Linked DNA regions of Homo sapiens: regions 1 and 3 are each linked to region 2. The links are contacts of gene promoters, found by promoter capture Hi-C in human tissues and cell types (Jung and others, 2019). All regions are on one chromosome and are shown on one strand. Each heading gives the region's core, a stretch centred on a gene start or on the middle of the fragment in contact. The rest is flanking DNA. Distances are from core to core; before and after follow the strand shown. Region 1 has its middle 9.0 kb from the start of CERS4. Region 2 holds the start of KANK3 (KN motif and ankyrin repeat domains 3). Region 3 overlaps ZNF414 (zinc finger protein 414).

Evidence for each region. Contacts are between HindIII fragments. The study calls those that stand out against the background at their distance.
Region 1: a contact is called between a fragment that was not itself captured here and the fragment with the promoter of KANK3 in region 2, in 1 of the 25 tissues and cell types used here (pancreas).
Region 3: a fragment that was not itself captured here is called in contact with the fragment with the promoter of KANK3 in region 2 in 1 of the 25 tissues and cell types used here (spleen).

Annotation. Positions count from the first base shown.
Region 1 is chr19:8,198,108-8,202,579 of GRCh38, forward strand. No RefSeq gene overlaps it. Among named protein-coding and RNA genes, the nearest start is that of CERS4, 9.0 kb to the right of the region's middle. The HindIII fragment of the contact is 7,247 bases long and covers 1-4,472 here.
Region 2 is chr19:8,340,357-8,344,776 of GRCh38, forward strand. It overlaps KANK3 (KN motif and ankyrin repeat domains 3), which reads right to left and starts at 2,906. Exons shown (of 11, transcript NM_198471.3): 1 at 2,869-2,906. RefSeq lists enhancers at 1-414, 2,349-3,140. The HindIII fragment of the contact is 26,102 bases long and covers 1-4,420 here.
Region 3 is chr19:8,505,723-8,509,879 of GRCh38, forward strand. It overlaps ZNF414 (zinc finger protein 414), which reads right to left. Exons shown (of 8, transcript NM_001146175.2): 8 at 3,956-4,157. Among named protein-coding and RNA genes, the nearest start is that of PRAM1, 5.2 kb to the left of the region's middle. RefSeq lists silencers at 1-49, 70-169, 280-539 and enhancers at 83-583, 623-1,209. The HindIII fragment of the contact is 8,917 bases long and covers 1-4,157 here.

The DNA.
Region 1 (4,472 bases), core at 1,858-4,357, 140 kb before region 2:
CTCAAAAAAAAAAAAAAAAAAAAAAAGCCCTTCCCCACACTGAAATACACTCAAATTATTATTATTATTATTATTATTATTATTATTATTATTATTTTGAGACAGAGTCTCGCTCTGTCGCCCAGGCTGGAGTCCAGTGGCGCGATCTTGGCTCACTGTAAGCTCCACCTCCTGGGTTCACGCCATTCTCCTGCCTCAGCCTCCCAAGTAGCTGGGACTACAGGCGCGCCTGCCACCACACCTGGCTAATTTTTTTGTATTTTTAGTAGAAATGGGGTTTCAACATGTTAGCAAGGATGGTCTCGATCTCCTGAACTCGTGATCCACCCGCCTCAGCTTCCCAAAGTGCTGGGATTACAGGCATGAGCCACCGCACCCGGCCTCAAATTATTTTTAATTTTTATTTTTCTTCAGACAAGAGTCTCACTCTGTCACCCAGGCTGGAGTGCAGTGGTACAATCACAGCTCACAGCTCACTCCAGCATTGAACTCCTGGTCTCAAGCAATGCTCCCACAGCCTCCCAGAGTGCTGGGATTACAGGTATGAGCCATGGGGCTTAGCCGCAAAGGCTTTTTTTGGGGTAGGTCGGGGGCTGATGTACAACTGAATGCACAGGAAAGGCCTTTCTAAGAATAAAATAAACATAAAAGTCACCAAAGGGCTGGGCATGGTGGCCCAAGCCTGTAATCCCAGCACTTTGGGAGGCTGAGGCAGGTGGATCACCTGAGGTCAGGAGTTCGAAACCACCCTGACCAAAATGGTGAACTCTGTCTCTACTAAAAATGCAAAAATTAGCTGGGCATGGTGGTGCACGCCTATAATCTCAGCTACTCGGGAGGCTGAAGCAGGAGAATCTCTTGAATCCAGGAGGCAGAGGCTGCAATGAGCCAAGATCACACCACTGCACTCCAGCCTGGGTGACAGAGCAAGACTCCATCTCAAAAAACAACAACAACAAAAAAAAAAAATGGAGGAAGAAGATTGAAGCTCACAGAATAAGAAGTAATTTCTTTAATACTAAAAAGAGCTTCTATATATATTTTACCACAGTAAAAGTAAAGAGGCTCTATAAATCAATAACAAAAAGGCTGTCGCCTGCAGAAAAACAAACAAACAAACAAAAAAAAAACGTTTCCAGGGAAAGACTAGAGGTCCACGTTTAAAAATGTTTTATTTTAAAGGCCAGACATGGTGGCTCATGGGAGGCTGAGGCGGGTGAATCACCCGAGGTCAGGAGTTCGAGACTAGCCTGGCCAACATGGTAAATCCCTGTCTCTACTAAAAATAGAAAAAATTAGCTAAGCATGGTGGCGGGCACCCGTAATCCCAGCTACTTGGGAGGCTGAGGCAGGAGAATCTCTTGAACCCGGCAGGTGGAGGTTGCAGTAAACTGAGATCACACCATTGCACTCCAGCCTGGGTGACAGAGCAAGACTCCATCTCAAAAAAAAAAAAAAGTTTTACTTTAGAGACAGTGTCTTGCTCTGTTGCCCAGTCTAGAGGGCACTGGTGCAATCATAGCTCACTGCAGCTGCAAACTCCTGACTCAAGTGATCGTCCTCCCTGAGCCTCCTGAGTAGCTGAGACTACAGGCATGAGCCACCACGTCTGGACAAGATCCACTTACAAATGTGTATATAGAAAGACAGAACCAGGCTGGGCACAGTGGCTCACACCTGTAATCCCAGCGCTTTGGGAGGCTGAGGCAGGTGGATCACAAGGTCAGGAGATCGAGACCATCTTGGCTAACACGGTGAAACCCCGTCTCTACTAAAAAAAAAAAATACAAAAAAGTAGCTGGGTGTGGTGGCAGGCGCCTGTAGTCCCAGCTACTCGGGACGCTGAGGCAGGAGAATGGCGTGAACCTGGGAGGCGGAGCTTGCAGTGAGCTGAGATCGCGCCACTGCTCTCCAGCAGCCTGGACGAGAGTGCGAGACTCCGTCTCCAAAAAAAAGAAAGACAGAACCTAACTATTTCCCAGGCTCATCTCAAACTCCTGACCTTAAGCCATCCTCTGGCCTTGACCTCCCAAAGTGCTGGAATTACAGGCATGAGCCACCGTGCCTGGCTCTGAGATCCAGTTTTTAAACACAGAGATGTTCAACCTCACTCGAAATAATAAAAATGCAGGCCAGGCGCGGTGGCTCATGCCTGTAATCCCAGCAGTTTGGAAGACCGAGGTGGGCAGATCACCTGAGGTCAGGAGTTCAAGACCATCCTGGCCAACATGGTGAAACCCCGTCTCTACTAAAAATATAAAAATTATCCGGGCATGGTGGCAGGCGCCTGTGGTGCCAGCTACTTGGGAGGCTGAGGCAGGAGAATCGCTTGAACCAGGCAGGTGGAGGTTGCAGCGAGCCGAGATCACGCCATTGCACCCCAGCCTGGGGGACAAGAGAGAGACTTCGTCTCAAAAAAATAAATAAATAAATAAAATAAAAAATAAAAATGCAAATGAGAACTACATACTTTTAAACCTCTCAGTTAGCAAAGATTAGAATGTTTGATAACATGTGGAGGATGAGTCCTTTGTGGAGAAACCTTTGGCAATAGTTATCCACGATACACCTGCTCACACCCTTTGACAAGTAATTCCACTTCTAGGAATTTACTGATGAGATCTCTTCATGCTGGGTTGACATATGACCTCTACGGCAGGTTATTCAATTCATCGTTGCTTGGATCAAAAACAACCGCCTAGACCAGGCGTGGTGGCTCAGGTCTGTAATCCCAGCATTTTGGGAGGCTGAGGCGGACAGACCATCTGAGGTCAGGAGTTCGAGACCAGCCTGACCAACATGGCAAAACCCCGTCTCTACTAAAACCACAATAATTAGCCGGGCTTGGTGGCAGGCACCTATGATCCCACCTACTGGGGAGGCTGAGTCGGGAGAATTACTTGAACTGGGGAGGCAGAGGTTGCAGTGAGCCGAGATCGTGCCACTGCACTCCAGCCTGGGTGACAAGAGCAAGACTCTGTCTCCAAAAATGCAACCAAACAACAACAACAAACAACGAAAATCGCCTAGTCCATCAATAGGAAACTGATAAGCAAAGTCTGGCTCAACCGTGGCATCCTATGTAGCCGCTAAAAAGAACAATATGGGGACAGGTGCACTGCCTCCCACCTGTAATCACAGCACTTTGGGAGGCCAAAGTGGGAGGCTCACTTGAGGCCACAGGTTTGAGACCAGCCTGGGCAACACAGTGAGACCCCATCTCTACAAAACTTTAAAAAATTAGCTGGCCATGATAGTGCACACTGTAGTCCCAGCTACCCAGGAGGCTGAGGTGGGAGGATCACTTGAGCCCAGGAGGTCGAGGCTGCAGTGAGCTATGATCACACCACTGCACTCCAGCCTGGGCGAAAGAATGAGACCCTATCTCTGAAAGAAAAGAAAAAGAAAAACAAAACGAAACAGAAAAAGAGCAAAGTGGTTCCCAAAGTATGCATATATCAAAAGATCACACTGTACCTGGTAAGTATATACAATTAATATTTGTCAAATAAAAGAAGAACAAGATGGTGAGAACTGCTGAACTCTGTGAATGGATCAAAAACCTTCGACTTGAAAACTTGAAATAGGCAAACTGGATGGTATGAAAATTATATCTCTAAAGCTGTTACCAAGCAACACAAAGTAAAACACTCAGTTTCCCAAGAAAGAAAAAGGCAGGAAGGAGACCCCCATCTCTACAGAAAATAAATAAATACATAAATGAGCTAGGTGTAGTGGTGCATGCCTGTAGTCCCAGCTATTCTAGAGGCTGAGGCAGGAGGATCACTTGAGCCCAGGAGTTGTGGAGGCTTCTGTGAGCTATGATTGTGCCACTGCCCTCCAGCCTGGGTGACAGAGGGAGATCCTGTCTCAAAAAAAGAGGCCGGGCGCGGCGGCTCACACCAGTAATCCCAGCACTTTGGGAGGCGGAGGTGGGTGGATCACAAGGTCAGGAGATCGAGACCATCCTGGCTAACACAGTGAAACTCCGTCTCTACTAAAAATACAAACAATTAGCTGGGCGTGGTGGTGGACGCCTGTAGTCCCAGCTACTCGGGAGGCTGAGGCAGGAGAATGGCGTGAACCTGGGAGGCAGAGCTTGCAGTGAGCCGAGATCACGCCACTGCACTCCAGCCTGGCGACAGAGTGAGACTCCGTCTCAAAAAAAAAAAAAAAGCAAGCAAGAAAGAGGGAGATAGAGAGGGAAGGAAGGCAGGAAGGAAGGACAAAAAGAAGGAAAGAAAGAAAACAGGAATTCAGAGGGAAAGGGTGGGGAGGGAGGTGAGGGATAAAAGACCATATATCGGCCAGGCGCGGTTGCTCCTGCCTGTAATCCCAACACTTTGGGAGGCCGAGGCGGGTGGATCACCTGAGGTTGGGAGTTCAACACCAGCCTGACCAACATGGAGAAACCCCGTCTCTACTAAAAATACAAAAAAAATTAGCCAGGTGTGGTGGCGCTTGCCTGTAAT
Region 2 (4,420 bases), core at 1,656-4,155:
TTATTATTCATATTTTACAGATGGAGAAACTGAGGCACAGAACAATTAAATCAGTTGCCTGTGGGAAGCACCCTCAGATTGGGCTCTGCCCATCTGCGGAACCCTTGTCAGCAGGTCCCTGCCACAGCTTCTGACTGCCCTTTACCTGTCCAGTCCTCCACTGACAGGCATCTGCCAAACCCACTTCATCCTCTCCCTGGGCCACGGCCCGTCTGTGCTAACCACATGGCAACACTCCCAGCCACCCCTTCTGGCTTCTCGAATCCCTGGGACCACCTGTGTGCCTGATGCTATGAAGCACTGAGCACCCACCAGCCCTCCTGACTCATTACCCTACTCCACCGCTGGGGAAACCGTAACTCCATTTCCCACTTCTGTCTGGCCGAGGTCCCTGACCTCTCCCTTCCCACTCCAAGGCCAGGCAGGGGGCCTCTTCCAGTCCCCAAGCAGCTGTTTCCCGTCCCTTCACACCAGCTGCAAGGGGTGGATCAACAGGCCAGCGGGTCATCGCAGAGGACAGCCAATGCCGTTCATCACTTGTTTTCAGGAAATTGCCAGGGAAGAACTGGGTTGTGGAAAAAGTCCAGATCAAGGGTTGGGGGGTCTGGGTCTACTTCTCACACAGCTGGCCGTATGACGCAATGGGGTCAGCGTCCTCCTCCGGTGACCTGGTCACACCCAAATCCCAGGCCCTGGGATCTCAGAAGACAGCTGTGGGCCATTCCTAAGACCTAAACTAGCTGAAGCAGTTGGATCCAGAGGCTGGGCTAAGAAAGGAATGGATCCCTCCAGAATGTCAAATAATAACAACGCTTTTGATATTTACTATGGGCCAGCCTCTAGTCTAAGGAATTTATGGATATTTACTTTTTTTTTTTTTTTTTTTAGAGGCAATGTCTCGCTCACTCTGTCACCCAGGCTGGAGTCAGTGGCTCGATCATAGCTCACTGTGGCCTTGAACCCCTGAGCTCAAGTGATCCGCCTCAGCCTCACAAATAGCTGAGACTACAGGAATGGACCTCTACACCTGGCTAATTCAGGCTAATATTTTAAATTTTTTGGTTTTTTGTTTTAGATGGAGTCATGCTCTGTCGCCCAGGCTGGAGTGCAGTGGCACAATCTCAGCTCACTGCAATCTCCGCCTCCCGGGTTCAAGTGATTCTCCTGCCTCAGCCTCCCAAGCAGCTGGGATTACAGGTGTGCACCACCATGCCTGGCTAATTTTTGTATTTTTAGTAGAGACGGAGTTTCACCATGTTGGCCAGGCTGGTCTCAAACCAGGCGTGAGCCGTGCCCGGCCTAATTTTATTTTTTGTAGATACAGGTGTCTTGCTATATTGCCCAGGCTGGCCTCCAACTCCTGGGCTCAAGCAATCTTCCCAGTTCAGCCTCCCAGAGTGCTGGGATTACAAGCATGAGCTACTGCACCTGACCTTGACTTATTTTTTAAAATCCTAGCTAAATCCACTGAGGTTGGATTTCCTATGATCATTGTCCCTTCCCCTATTGTACAGATGGAGAAACTGAGACACAGAACAGTTTAGTGTCCTGCCTGGGTCCTGTCATAAACAGGCAGAGGCAGGTTTTAAACCCAGGCAGGTCTTCCAGAGTCCTTGCTTTGGCCACTACACTTGAATGCTTTCTTTTATTTTTATTTTTGAGACGGAGTCTCTGTCACCCAGGCTGGAGTGCAGTGGCAGGATCTCGGCTCACTGCAACCTCTGAGCCCAGGGTTCAAGCGACTCTCCTGCCTCAGCATCCTGAGTAGCTGGGATTACAGGCACTTGCCACCACAGCTGGCTAATTTTTGAATTTTTAGTAGAGACGGGTTTCATCATGTTGGTCAGTCTGGTCTCAAACTCCTGACCTCAAGAGATCAGCCCTACTTGACCTCCCAAAGTGCTGGGATAACAGGCATGAACCACCAAGGAGCCTCAGGGGGCTTGTCCCTCCCAGCCTACACCTGTGTCAGACTCTGATTGGGGGCGGAGGTGCCCACCACCTCTGCGGCTTCAGGGGCTGGGGCCTCACTAAGTGGGGCGTTTAGCTGCCTTCCCTCTCCTCCGCTCCCTGCCCTGACTGTCACAGCTAGATCCGGATTCTGTGCCTGAGACCCCCTCATTAGGCCGTCAGAGCCGACGCCACACGCCCCCTCTCCCGCCCCAGGGACTATTTTGGGACGCAGAGCTGTGATCACCAAACCGGAGTGGTGGGGGCCACGGCAGGCCAGTGAGGATCCCAGTCCTGGGGAGAGGGCGCCTTCCAGGAGGCCCTGAGTACTGGCAGCCCCTGATGTCTGCTGGGACTCTCAGACTCTTGAGGTGGGTGGGTGGGGGACCGGTGGCGGCAGGAAGGTGGGTGTTAAAGTCATCATCACCCGTCCACCCCCAGGTCGTCCTAGCCGCACAGAGACAGAGCAGTTTCCTACAGGAAGCGCCGCCGGGCGGTTCCATCCGCTACCCATTGTCTGCGGGTCCGGGGGCCGTGCGTCCCTCCCCAAAACACCATTTCCGTGACACGCTCCCACACCCAGCCCAGCGCGAGGGGCTGGCTGGGGTCCCCAGGCCGTCCCGGGAAAGGGTCCCAGGGCCGGTTGTGGCATTAGGGAGCGAACGAGCCCCGCAGTGAGCTCCCGAAGGGCGAGAGGGGGGCAAGCCCACGCCTCCAGAGCCCCCCACTCTGCTCGCTACCCACCTGGGACTTCCAATGTGGGAGGGGTCCCGGCCAGAGGACACGACGCCCGCCCCGTCGCAGCGGGCAGAGCCCTCAGTGGGGCTGGAAACGCAGCGCAGCGCCGGGTCCCGGTGCGTCCCCGAATCCACCCACCCAGGGGTCCCCCATCCGTGTCCCCGCAAGCTGGCAATTTACCTGAAGCCGCAGCCCCAGCCGCGCCCGCACCCGAGCCCGCCCCCTCGAAGTCCGGGGACTGATTATCAAGGCCTTCGCCCTAACTGACGGCCACGCCAGCCAACCAGCACCCGAGGCTCTCCAAGCCGCCCAGTGGGACGGTGGGGTGGGACAGGCAGGCGGGGCCTGGAATGTAGGGGTGGTGACTGAGGGCGGGCCCTGGAGTGACGGTCGCCGAGCGCTGGCTGGCGGCATTTCTGCACCAGCAGAGGTCAAGTCTCTGCCCAGCGCCGGGCCAAGGAGCTTGGATTTGATCCACAGGCACGAGGGAGCCATGGGAGAACTATGAGTAGAAGAGTAACCCGGTGGGATTTCTATAACTGGCACTTATTTCGCAGTGCCTGGGTGAAGTATCAGGTCCCGGATCTTCCCCACCGCAGGGCCTCTGCACATGCTGTTCCACCTACCTGAAATGCTTTCCCTTGCACCTGTACACGTAGGTACTTTTTGAGGCTCCCCTACTGTTTTTTGTTTTGTTTTGTTTTTGTTTTTTGAGACGGAGTCCCAGGCTGGAGTGCAGTGACACTCACTGCAACCTCCGCCTCCTGGGTTCAAGCAATTCTCCTGCCTCAGCCTCCCGAGTAGCTGGGATTACAGACACACACCACCACGTCCAGCTAATATTTGTATTTTTAGTAGAGATGGGGTTTCACCATGTTGGCCGGGCTGGTCTGGAACTCCTGACCTCAAGTGATCCGCCCGCCTCAGCCTCCCAAAGTGTTGGGATTACAGGCGTGAGCCACCGCGCCCGGCCTTCCCTACTTTCTGAGGTTCAGCTTTTGTGTTGCTGCCCCCTAAATTCCTGACATAGCCCCTCCCCAGTTAGTATTTTTCTCATCACTCTATTGTATTAACCTAATAGCTACTTTTACTATCTGGAAAAAAAAAAAAAAGCAGACTCTGTTATTGGCAGGCGCAGTGACTCACGCCTGTAAATCCAGTATTTAGGGAGGCATAGATGGGAGGATAGCTTGAGCCAGGAGTTGAGACCAGCCTGGGCAACATAGCAAGACCTAGTTCTCAAAACAAAAGAAAACAACAAAACAAAAAGACAAAAACGAAACACTCAGTTATTTATTTGGTTTATTTTTTAATTTAATTTAATTTTTTTTTAGACAGAGTCTCGCTCTGTCCCAGGCTGGAGTGCAGTGGTGCGATCTTGGCTCACTGCAACCTCTGCCTCCTGGGGTTCAAGCGATTCTCCTGCCTCAGCCTTCTAAGTAGCTGGGATTACAGGCGCACACCACCACGCCCAGCTAATTTTTGTATTTTTAGTAGAGACAGGGTTTCACCATGTTGCCCAGGCTGGTCTCGAACTCCTGACCTCAGGTGATCCGCCCACCTCAGCCTCCCAAAGTGCTGGGATTACAGGCGTGAGCCACCATGCCTGGCTGGTTATTTATTGGTTTACCTGCTTGCCATCTCACTAAAGTGTCGGCACCAAGGCCAGGTGGGGTGGCTCATGCCTGTAATCCTAGCACCTCCTGAGGCTGAGGTGGGAGGATCTTTTGAG
Region 3 (4,157 bases), core at 963-3,462, 160 kb after region 2:
ATTCCCAGGTGCCTGGGCTGGTCACTACCCGTGCACTCTCGCAGCTAGGAGGGTCCAGCCAGGGCGCGCGCACCAAGGCCCCACGGGGGCGCCGTGGGGGTGAAGCGCAGGTCCCGGAGCTGTAGTCATGGTGCGCCTCCCCGCCAACTACCCTTTGTGTATTTGGCGCCTCCGTAGGGGCTCCCGGCAGGGTTCCGCGCGGCGCGGCTGCAGACAGGGACAGATAGGGTTACCGGAATCCCGGAGAAGGGAGCCCGGACCAGGGGAGTGAGAGTTCGTTAGGGCGCGCCTTGGGGAATCTGCGGGGTCGGAAACGCGAACAACGGTGTGCAGGGGGAGGAGCCCGGGGAGCACGTGGGCGGCGGATCCCAGGGCCGCAGGGCGCCCTCCACCTCCCCGCTCCTGGCCCGCAATGAGGGTAACCGGACCGGCACCTGCAAGTGACAGCTGGGGCTGGACAAATGCCGGGCACGGGCCTCTGGCCGGCCTCAGAGCTGTTCAGCGCGAGCCCGCGGCTTCCAGCCAACCTGCCCGCTATCCCCACTGCTCTCCCGGCTTTCATTCCCCCGAGTCTGAGATTCCTGGGCGCCCCCTGCTGGGCGGAGCCGGGGCCCAAGAGGGCTGGGCTCCTGTGCATGGGGGTTGGGGGCCGGCTTGAGGGTAGGAGGTCGTTTCTGCAGTGGACAGGGTGAACGGTGGAGGACAGGTGGTGAGCCAGCTCCCCAGGCCTCGCGGCAGTCAGTTCACTCCAGAGGGTAGTGTGGTGGCCGTGGGCCCGCTGTACACACAGGAAGGGCTGTCCCATCTCCGTGGGTGATGGGGTAGGGGAGAGGTCCCTGGACGGACGTGTTGGCTCTAGGTTTCTCTGGAAAGATACTGACAGACTGGGAAGAGGCGTGGCCTAGATCTGGGGGTGGCCGAATAAAGAAACTGATGGGGACAAAGACTCCTGGGGGCCCCCGGGACCCTGGAGAGGGGTTAGGGGCCTGGGGGACAGAGAACACAGCGCTGTCCCTGGAGATGGGGGAGAGGCTTGGACTACAGCCAGATCTAGGGACCTGCAGAATGCGGGAACAGGGGCGTGTCCTCTGGACCTGCTGGCAGGGTTTTCTCTTCTCGTGGTAACCGTGCGCAGCTCCCAAGATGGTGCAGAATCAGTGCCGCTGACTGGGAACTGGGGCTGGCTAGAGGCCTCCTAGCCTCACCTTCTCTATATATCTGTAAAATGGGCCCCTTCACCCTGTCCCACCCTCCTCCCCAGGTCGAGAGAGTCCCAGGCAGCCATGGGCTCGGGACGTGAAGTTCTCAGCAGACATTTCCCAAGCCCCTCCTCTCCCTGCAGCCTCTCTTTTCATCCTCGCGTCCACCCCAAAGGACTCACCAGTCATCATGACACCCTTTTAAGGACGAGGGAATTGGGAGGCAGGGAAGTCGACTCTTTTCCAGGGTCCCACAGTGGTGGTTTCAAGGCTTCTGGCTGAGAAGGGGGAGCTTAGGGGGCCTCCTGATGGCCTGTCCTACCCCATCCTGACAACCACCTCAGCTGGGGCCTACAGGTTCTGGGAGAGTGGACACCCAGCCCAAGCCACGTCAGCTGAGGCTGCTGCCCCGTCACATCACAGCCCCATCAAGGACAGAGCAGTCTTCAGGCCCCTGGTGAGGCGGTGGGCAGTGGGGCAGACAGACGGGTCCCAAGGGCCTGAGGATCCCCTCCTGCCCCTTGCAGTGGCTGAAGGGCTTCTGGAGCCCAGAGCTGTCCATCTTTGAGGTGACATGGCACTGAGCAGGTGTGGGGCAGGTGGCCCTTGGCTTGTCTACCTGGATGGCTTTGACTCAGAGCCTGAGGTGGACACGTTGGTGGATGAAAAGTCCAAGGAAGATAGGTGCGGTGGATCACGCCTGTAATCCCAGCACTTTGGGAGGCCGAGGCGGGCGGATCATGAGGTCAAGAGTTCGAGACCAGCCTCGCCAACATGCTGAAACCCCATCTCTACTAAAAATACAAAAAATTAGCCAGGCATGGTGGAGGGCACCTGTAATCCCAGCTACTTGGGAGGCTCAGGCAGGAGAATGGTGTGAACCTGGGAGGCGGAGGCTGCAGTGAGCTGAGATGGTGCCACTGCACTCCAGCCTGGGTGACAGTGCGAGACTCCATCTTCCAAAAAAAAAAAAAAAAAAAAAATCTGAGGAAGACAACAAGGAGGGTGGCGGGGGGCAAGGAGAAGGTGGGAGGGCAGTGACGGAGGAGTGGGGTCTGGGGGCCCCGCCCAGGGGTTACTGGTGTCTCGGCTGCAGATACCAGGATGAGGAGGTGAGGGGGAACCCCGAAGTGGATTCAGAGAATGGAGAAAGGAGGAGGAGGTAAGGATTGAGACAAGGTGGACTGCGTGAAGGAGGTCCCTGGGTTCTTGCTCACAGGATGTCTGTATATCCAGGAGGATGAGGGAGACAGTGAGTGTTGTTCTGGGAGGGGACCGAGAGGTTCAAGGTAGGGCCTTGTGGGCTACTGGGAGAACAGGATCTTCATCCAGAGGGCCATGGGAAGCCACTGAAGGGTGCCGGGCAGGAGAGGGGAACAATCAGAAGAGACCCTGGCAGGGCGTGGTGGCTCACACTTGTAATCCCAGTACTTTGGGAGGCCAAGGTGGGTCGATCACCTGAGGTCAGGAGTTCGAGACCAGCCTGACCAACATGTTGAAACCTCATCGCTACTAAAAATACAAAAAGTTAGCCGGGGTGGTGGCAGGCGCCTGTAATCCCAGCTACTTGGAGGCTGAGGCAGGAGAATCATGTGAACCCAGAAGGCGGAGGTTGCAGTGAGAGCTGAGAGTGTACCATTGCACTCCAGCCTGGCACTGCCATTGCACTCCGGCGAGACTCTGTCTCCAAAAAAAAAAAAATAAATAAAATAAAAAGAGGAAGAAGAGACTGTTTTCTGTTTTCAGTCTTGGGGTAAGGGCAGGTTGGGGAGAGTAGGGGGTGGGCTAGGGGACCCTGGGGCTGGCGAGATGAGGATAGAAGGGAGAGGGATCATGGAGGTAAAACCAGCTTCCAAGGGATGGCTGTGGATATCACCTGGGACTTCCATACCTGGGAGGCTGGCTTCAGGGGTGAGGAGAAAGACCAGGCCATGGAGGGCTGGCCTTGACCCACCCCACTCCTCAGAGCTGGGACATGGTGGAAATTGGTCTGGCAGACAGCAAGGAGGATGAAGACCTGAGTCCCCAGCCTGCCTCCCCAATCCCAAAGGATTCTTCCCCTTAAGTCAGTATGGGGTTCAGGGTCTGGGGGTCTTCAGGCCATCCTGGCCAGTCCCTGCACTTTCTCAGGACCAGCCTTCCAGCCTGTCCCCGAAGCTCCTGGGATTTTTTCTTTTTTTGTCTCCCAGGCTGGGGTTGCAATGGTGTGATGATGGCTCACTGCAGCCTTGAACTGCTGTGCTCGTGATCCTCCTGCCTCAGCCTCCCAGGTAGCCACCACGGCTATTTTTTTTTTTTTTTTTTTTTAAGACAGAGTTTCACTCTATCACCCAGGCTGGAGTGCAGGGTCTTGATCTCGGCTCACTGCAACCTCCATCCCACCGGGTTCAAGCGATTCTCCTGCCTCAGGCTCCCGAGTAGCTGGGATTATAGGTGCCCACCACCATGCCCGACTAATTTTCATATTTTTAGTAGAGATGGGGTTTCACCATGTTGGCCAGGCTAGTCTCCAACTCCTGACCTCAAGTGATCCACCCACTTCGGCCTCCCAAAGTGCTAGGATTACAAGCATGAGCCACCATGCCCAGCCATGCCTGATTATTTTTTGTATTTTTTTTGGTGGGCGGGGAGGTAGAGATGCGATCTTGCTAGGTTGCCCAAGCTGGTCTCGAACTCCTGGCCTGAGGCGCCCCTCCTGCCTCAGCTTCCTAAAGCACTGAGACTGCAGACATTAGTCACCTCTCCTGGTTACGGGATTGCTTTTTAATTTTCTTTATTTTTGAGATGGAGTTCCACTCGTATTGCCCAGACTGGAGTGCAATAGCACAATCTCAGCTCACTGCAACTTCCACCTCCCAGGTTCAAGTGATTCTCCTGCCTCAGCCTCCCAAGTAGCTGGGACTACAGGTGTGCGCCACCACACCTGGCTAATTTTTTGTGTTTAGTAGAGATGGGGTT